2 separate regions of the Homo sapiens genome follow, and region 1 is linked to region 2. Evidence: promoter capture Hi-C in 16 types of primary human blood cells and fetal thymus (Javierre and others, 2016). All regions are on one chromosome and are shown on one strand. The core of a region is centred on a gene start or on the middle of the fragment in contact, and the rest is flanking DNA. Distances in the headings are between cores, read along the strand shown. Region 1 overlaps CDK15 (cyclin dependent kinase 15). Region 2 holds the start of KIAA2012-AS1 (KIAA2012 antisense RNA 1).

Evidence for each region. Contacts are between HindIII fragments. The CHiCAGO score rates a contact against its expected background, and 5 or more counts as called.
Region 1: a contact is called between a fragment that was not itself captured here and the fragment with the promoter of KIAA2012-AS1 in region 2, in 1 of 17 cell types (endothelial precursors). The highest score is 5.9, in endothelial precursors.

What each region holds. Positions count from the first base shown.
Region 1 is chr2:201,883,452-201,886,274 of GRCh38, forward strand. All of the region lies in intron 12 of CDK15 (cyclin dependent kinase 15), which reads left to right. Among named protein-coding and RNA genes, the nearest start is that of CDK15, 78 kb to the left of the region's middle. The HindIII fragment of the contact is 896 bases long and covers 876-1,771 here.
Region 2 is chr2:202,115,668-202,118,370 of GRCh38, forward strand. KIAA2012-AS1 (KIAA2012 antisense RNA 1) reads right to left here and starts at 1,391. Exons shown (of 4, transcript NR_135244.1): 1 at 1,220-1,391; 2 at 1-237. The region is part of intron 11 of KIAA2012; the gene reads left to right. The HindIII fragment of the contact is 4,910 bases long and covers 1-2,703 here.

The DNA of each region.
Region 1 (2,823 bases), core at 74-2,573, 230 kb before region 2:
AGGTTGTGGCAGTACGCTTAGAGCCAAAGGGCATTTATCAGGGGGTTATTTGCCATGAAAACCAGGAATTCCAGGATTAGTTTCCTTTTGGACAGCACCTGAAGTGGAAAAGTGTGAATATTAGAATGGCAAGCATGTGGGAACTTCTGCCAAGTTCTGACATTTTCCCTTATTGACTCGTGAACACCTGAAGAAACACTTGTTGAAGGAGAAATTATTGGTAGTCCCTCTCAAAACACAGCCAACAGCAAGCTAATTGCTTTTGCAGATGGCCAGGGAGTCGCTCTTCCCACTCAGACACCGGCTTATGGCCACACTTGTGGTCCTCGTGGCTGAGCCAGCAGGGCAGGACGTCAGCTGGAGCAGCTAGGACCTAAAATTAGGCCCTTGGCAACTCTCTAATCTTAGCTGCAGGTTCAGCTTCTTCATTTAATTCTCTTTGCCCTCAGCATGAACTTGGGCTCTGGGAAAGGAACACTGTTTAATGATTTGGGGGTGGGGGTAGTAGGAAATCATTAAGCTGCCCCTTCTTAAAACTGGCTCCGCTCTGTTCTTTCAGGAAACCTTCCAAATGTTACCCTTGGAAATTTAAGACTGATTTTGGAACCTAGCCATTTTGAACTACAGACACTGATCCAGAAAAGTATTTTTTATCTGAGGCAGTAAATGACACGTGATTTAAGAGTCTGGTCTTTAAGCCATGGTCCTTGATCGTCAGGACATCAAAGGCTGTCTCTCTTTCTCTCTCTCTCTCTGGGTTGGTCCCATTTTGCTTGCTAGCCAAGTCTCATACTTGAGTCTCCCATTCCTTCCTGGACTAAATCCCCTTCTCCTTTAAAACAGGTTTTAGCATCTTAGGGGGAGAAAATCTAAAAAGCTTGCAATTGTTTCACAAGTAATTTTGCAAAAATGCTGTACCACAGCCCCCATTGTTAGAGTATACTTATATACACATAGGGATGGAAGAAAGCATGGCATTTACCTCTACCTTTGATCACACCATCCCGATATCTATACTCCGAAAGTTCTTCAGCATGCCTCATTGCCCTGTTAAAATCTGAGTCGTGTTTTGTTTTGGTTCAATAAAATAACTTCAGGCCTTCTTTGAGTGTTATCTCCTTAATATATTGGAAGGTCCCTATGATATCACTTCCCAAAGGCCACTTTAGGCTGAATTCCTTTAACCTTTGTTTCCAAATACAAATTCTGTTTCTCCCACTTTTTAGTCATTTTGTTTTATTGTTCTCTTCTGAATCTGTTCCAATTATTTTGCTTATCTCTGAGAATATGGAGGCAGCATAGACTCAAATTTCTTGCATGGTGGGAGAATCATGTTCCATTCATTCATTGGAGGTTTACTGAGTGTCCATGAGGTGTGATATTAAAGGATACAAAAATGAATTAGTCATAGACCCTGTCCTCAAAGAGCTTACGGTCCTTTAGGAAATAAGACAAGTATATAAACAGCTGCAGATCAAGTATACAAATAAAGTGCTCTAAGTGTTTGAAGGAGGTGAGATTAACTCCAGCTGTGGGGATCCAGGATGATTTTGTGAGTGGGCCTTGAAAGATGATGGGTCTGGATGATTGGAGAGGAAGGGCATACGGGCAAAGGAATGTCGTGTTCCTCTCAATACCATCTAAGATCATTCTGAAGTTGTCTTCTTTTTAATCATAGTGGCTCAGTCTTAACTCATATACCATTGTAGTTTTTCTTACCATCGTATGCCTTTTTGCAACAATTTAAACATTCTTTAACATGTACTAATCAAGCTTAGTTTCACTCTGAATGCTTCCACGTAATTTCAAACCTATTCTGTTTATTGGTTTTTTTGTGTATTCTATTCAAAGTTGAACCAGAATATTTTGTCATTCTATGAGGCCAGGTTTCAGGGGCTGGGGATGTTGGAAAAGAGGGAGGGAAGATTCTCAGCCATCCTCTTGACTCTGTGCTACTTCTAGGAGTTTGTAACGTAACTCAGACCAATCTGTCCACCTTTTAAATCCTCCATTAATCAGCCCTTAAGAAGCGAATTTGGAGATGTCCTCCATAACACACTTCCTCACCTTCTATGCACAAAGTTGTTCTCCATCCATTTCAATATGTTAGAGGAGATACTGGGTTGAGACGTGGTTTATGGGGTTGCATAGCATTGTGTTGCTGGGAGAAGTCTGGGAAAACCAAGTCCCTCAGCCCTACCAAGCCCTTAAGTTGGTTAAATTTGTTACGTTCATGGCTGAGTCTCCAAGTAAAGATAAATAATTCAGAAAAGAGTTATTTATAAAGGATCTTAAAGATTACTTATTCCATACCTTCATTATATAGCTGAGTCACTGATGCCCAGGGAAGAATAATCGTACCTGCCTTTTATTGGACATCTATATGCTTTATATAAATTATCAATCTATGTACTAATTGGTGAGGCTGGAATTGTTATCCTCATATTACAGATTAGACAGCTGGAAGTCAGGTAGGCTAATTGCTTGAAGTCACACAGCTAGAAAGTTGTAGAGCCAAGATTTTACTTCAAATCTGACTCCTAAAAGCTACTCCTTTCCTACTATTCATTGTTCTTGCTAAAGATCACATAGGAACTTAGCTGCAAAATCAAGATTAGAACCAAGATCTTGATGCCCAGTTCTGTGCTCCTCCCACTCTCTCATGTACTGTGTTTATTTTAAAGCTTTTCTGGGAAAGATTCCACACATCTCCAGGTAGCGTGTTTAATATCTCACAATTAAGAGGGCTCAATTTATGTTGAATAGAGATTTACACCCCAGGACCAACTTCTTCCTCAATGCCATCTTACTTTAGTTTATTTT
Region 2 (2,703 bases), core at 141-2,640:
TGACTGAATACTCCAGGTGCCACAAAGGAAAGTTCTTTAGGGATCATAGTTGTTGCTGGGTTTTTTGTTTTTTGTTTTAATTAAAAAAAAAAAAAAACTCTTGAGTAAAGGAAGGAATACGATCCATCTGATCTTTCTGAGACTTCCAGGCTCTGTCAACAACTATTTGGAAATAAATTCTTAGGCAATTAGATCATGGTATCTTCTTTCAGACAGCATAGGGAAATGAATATAAACCTTCAGAAGGAAAAAAAAAAAGATGTGAAGACTAGAGCTGGAATTTGACCCTTTTGGTCATGTTGGGATATTGAACATTTAGAAAATTGAAAGTCTTGAGAAAGGAAAAGTTAACTTAGAAGGATACATGTCAAACCACTGGATATGCCCTCTGAATTGCTTATCCTTGATTCAAATCCTTCATCTACTCCCCTAGTCACAGTGCCAGCAATAGAAGTTTTCTCTCAGAAGTTCTTTTATTCAGAAGTTTGTTTTACAAAGAAGTTCAAGGATGTTTATGCCAATGATTCAGGTTGGGCATCAAGTCCCATGTAAATTTAAATTCCTGGTCTCTTTCAGAGTTTCTGTTTAGTATTTGTTCTTGTTCTAAATGGATTTTTACCCTCAAAATGTTTCTTGGGTGTTTTTTGTTTTTTTAGACAGGGTCTTGCTCTGTCGCACAGGCTAGAGTACAGTGGTGCAATCATGGCTCACTGAAGCCTCAAACTCCTGGGTTCAAGCTATCCTCCCACCTCAGCCTCCAAATAGCTGGGGCTACAGGCACGAGCCACCATGCCCGGCTTTTTTTTTTTTTTTTTTTTTTTTGAGATGGGGTCTCCCTGTGTTGCCCAGGCTGGTCTCAAACTCCTGGCCTCAAGCAATCCTCCCACCTAGGTCTCTCAAAACACTGGGATACAGGCATGAGCCACTGCACCCAGCCTTTCTTGTTTGTTTGTTGTTGTTATTTGTCATTTAATTAGCATCCTTCCCCCTTGCAACTCTTTCTTGGTGTGGTGGTTTTAAAATACATCCACAAATTCTTTGACACTTCCCCCTTCAAAAGGGAGAAACTAACTCTTCTCCCCTTGAGTGTGAGTGGGATATGATGGCTCACTTCTAAATAAAGATAGACTATGGCAGAATTGATGGTATGTGACTTCTGAGACTGGGGTCATAAAAGGCACCAAGGCTTCCTCCTTGCTCTCTCTCTCGGATTACTCACTCTGGGGAAAGCCAACCACCATGTCTGTGATGAGGCCACTCAAGCAGCCTATGGCAAGCAGTCCACATGGCAAGGAACAGAAGCCCCTTGCCAACAGCCAGAATGAACTTCCTAGGCTTGTGTGGGAGTTGCCTTGAGAGGAGGTTCTCCAGCCCCAGTCAAGTCTTCAGATGACTGCATCCCTGGCTGACACTCTGTCTGTGACCTCACAAAAGGCTGCACCAGAACCACACACCTAAGCCACTCCAAGATTCCCACAGAAACTGAGGCATAACAAAGGTTTATTGTTTTAGGTTTCAGGATCATTTATTTTGCAGTAATAGATAACTAGTATTCTAGATAACTAGTATTCTTGGTGTCATTTTGTGATGGTCTGTGATTTGGTTGACAGAAAGATGAGTCTAAGAATATCCCAGCTGGTCTGAAAACACTGATCATTTAGGGGTAAACATAGGCTAAGTGACTGTTCTCCCATTTTTCCTTTGTGATAAGTTGGTTGTGGGACCCCACGGGTAAAAGAATCCTTCCATGTTGGTGGGGTACTGTTTAAAGTATGATTTTCCTTAAGTAGCCCATCTCTTAGTAGCTGTTACCTTACTGATGATGCCGAGAGATGTAAGGGAGGACAATTAATTTTGATAAGGCCATGTGAGGAAGAAGAAAAAACTCTGGTTTTATTCCCACCTGTACTGCCCAGGATTTCTGTGATCACAGGCAAATAACTTCATTGCCTTGGACCTCAGCTTCCTCATATGGAAAAAGAGGAGTTGGTATTAGATCCAGTCCTCACAGCACATGTCCCGTCGAACTCCAATTCCTCAGAAGGTTAACAGGCATTGTGTAAAAAAGGAAAGGTTCTAGGGCCAGATACATTTGGAAACCAGTGGACCAAAGTTAAGCAGATCCCTTACCGCAGGACTTCCTAGAGCCTCCGATATGCTGATGTGCACCGTGGTTCTTCAGGATGGGGATATGCACTGTTTCCCAAACTTATTTGATCACTGAATCCCTTTGTTTTTGGTAAAGCATCATGTGGATCTAAAAAGTTTTTGGCAAACTTTGGAAAATGCTAAACTGATGATTTCTAAGGTTCTCCTAACATGGCATGTTTCTAAATATGCCCCTTTCCCCAAGGAGATTCTCTCGGTGGAGCAGTTCTTGTGTCTAAATCCTGAAACAGGATTTCAGCCATTAATCATTTGTGACTATTATTATTTTTATTCTCTAAACATCAGTTCTGAATCATAGAGTCCACAATCCATCCATCTCTGGATAGGAAGAAATACAGGAAGATAGGAGCCCCACGTGGTTATAGTGTACACTGCCCCTTGTGCCTTTTCAGTGTTTTTCATAACCCTCATGAGAAATAATGTTGGCAGGTGTTACCAGTACTAGTGATCTCTGGTCAAATGTTTGAGTAAAGGAAAATGTGGCTGGATATGGTCTCTGGGCACCCAGCATTTCCTTCCAGTGGGTGTTCCTGT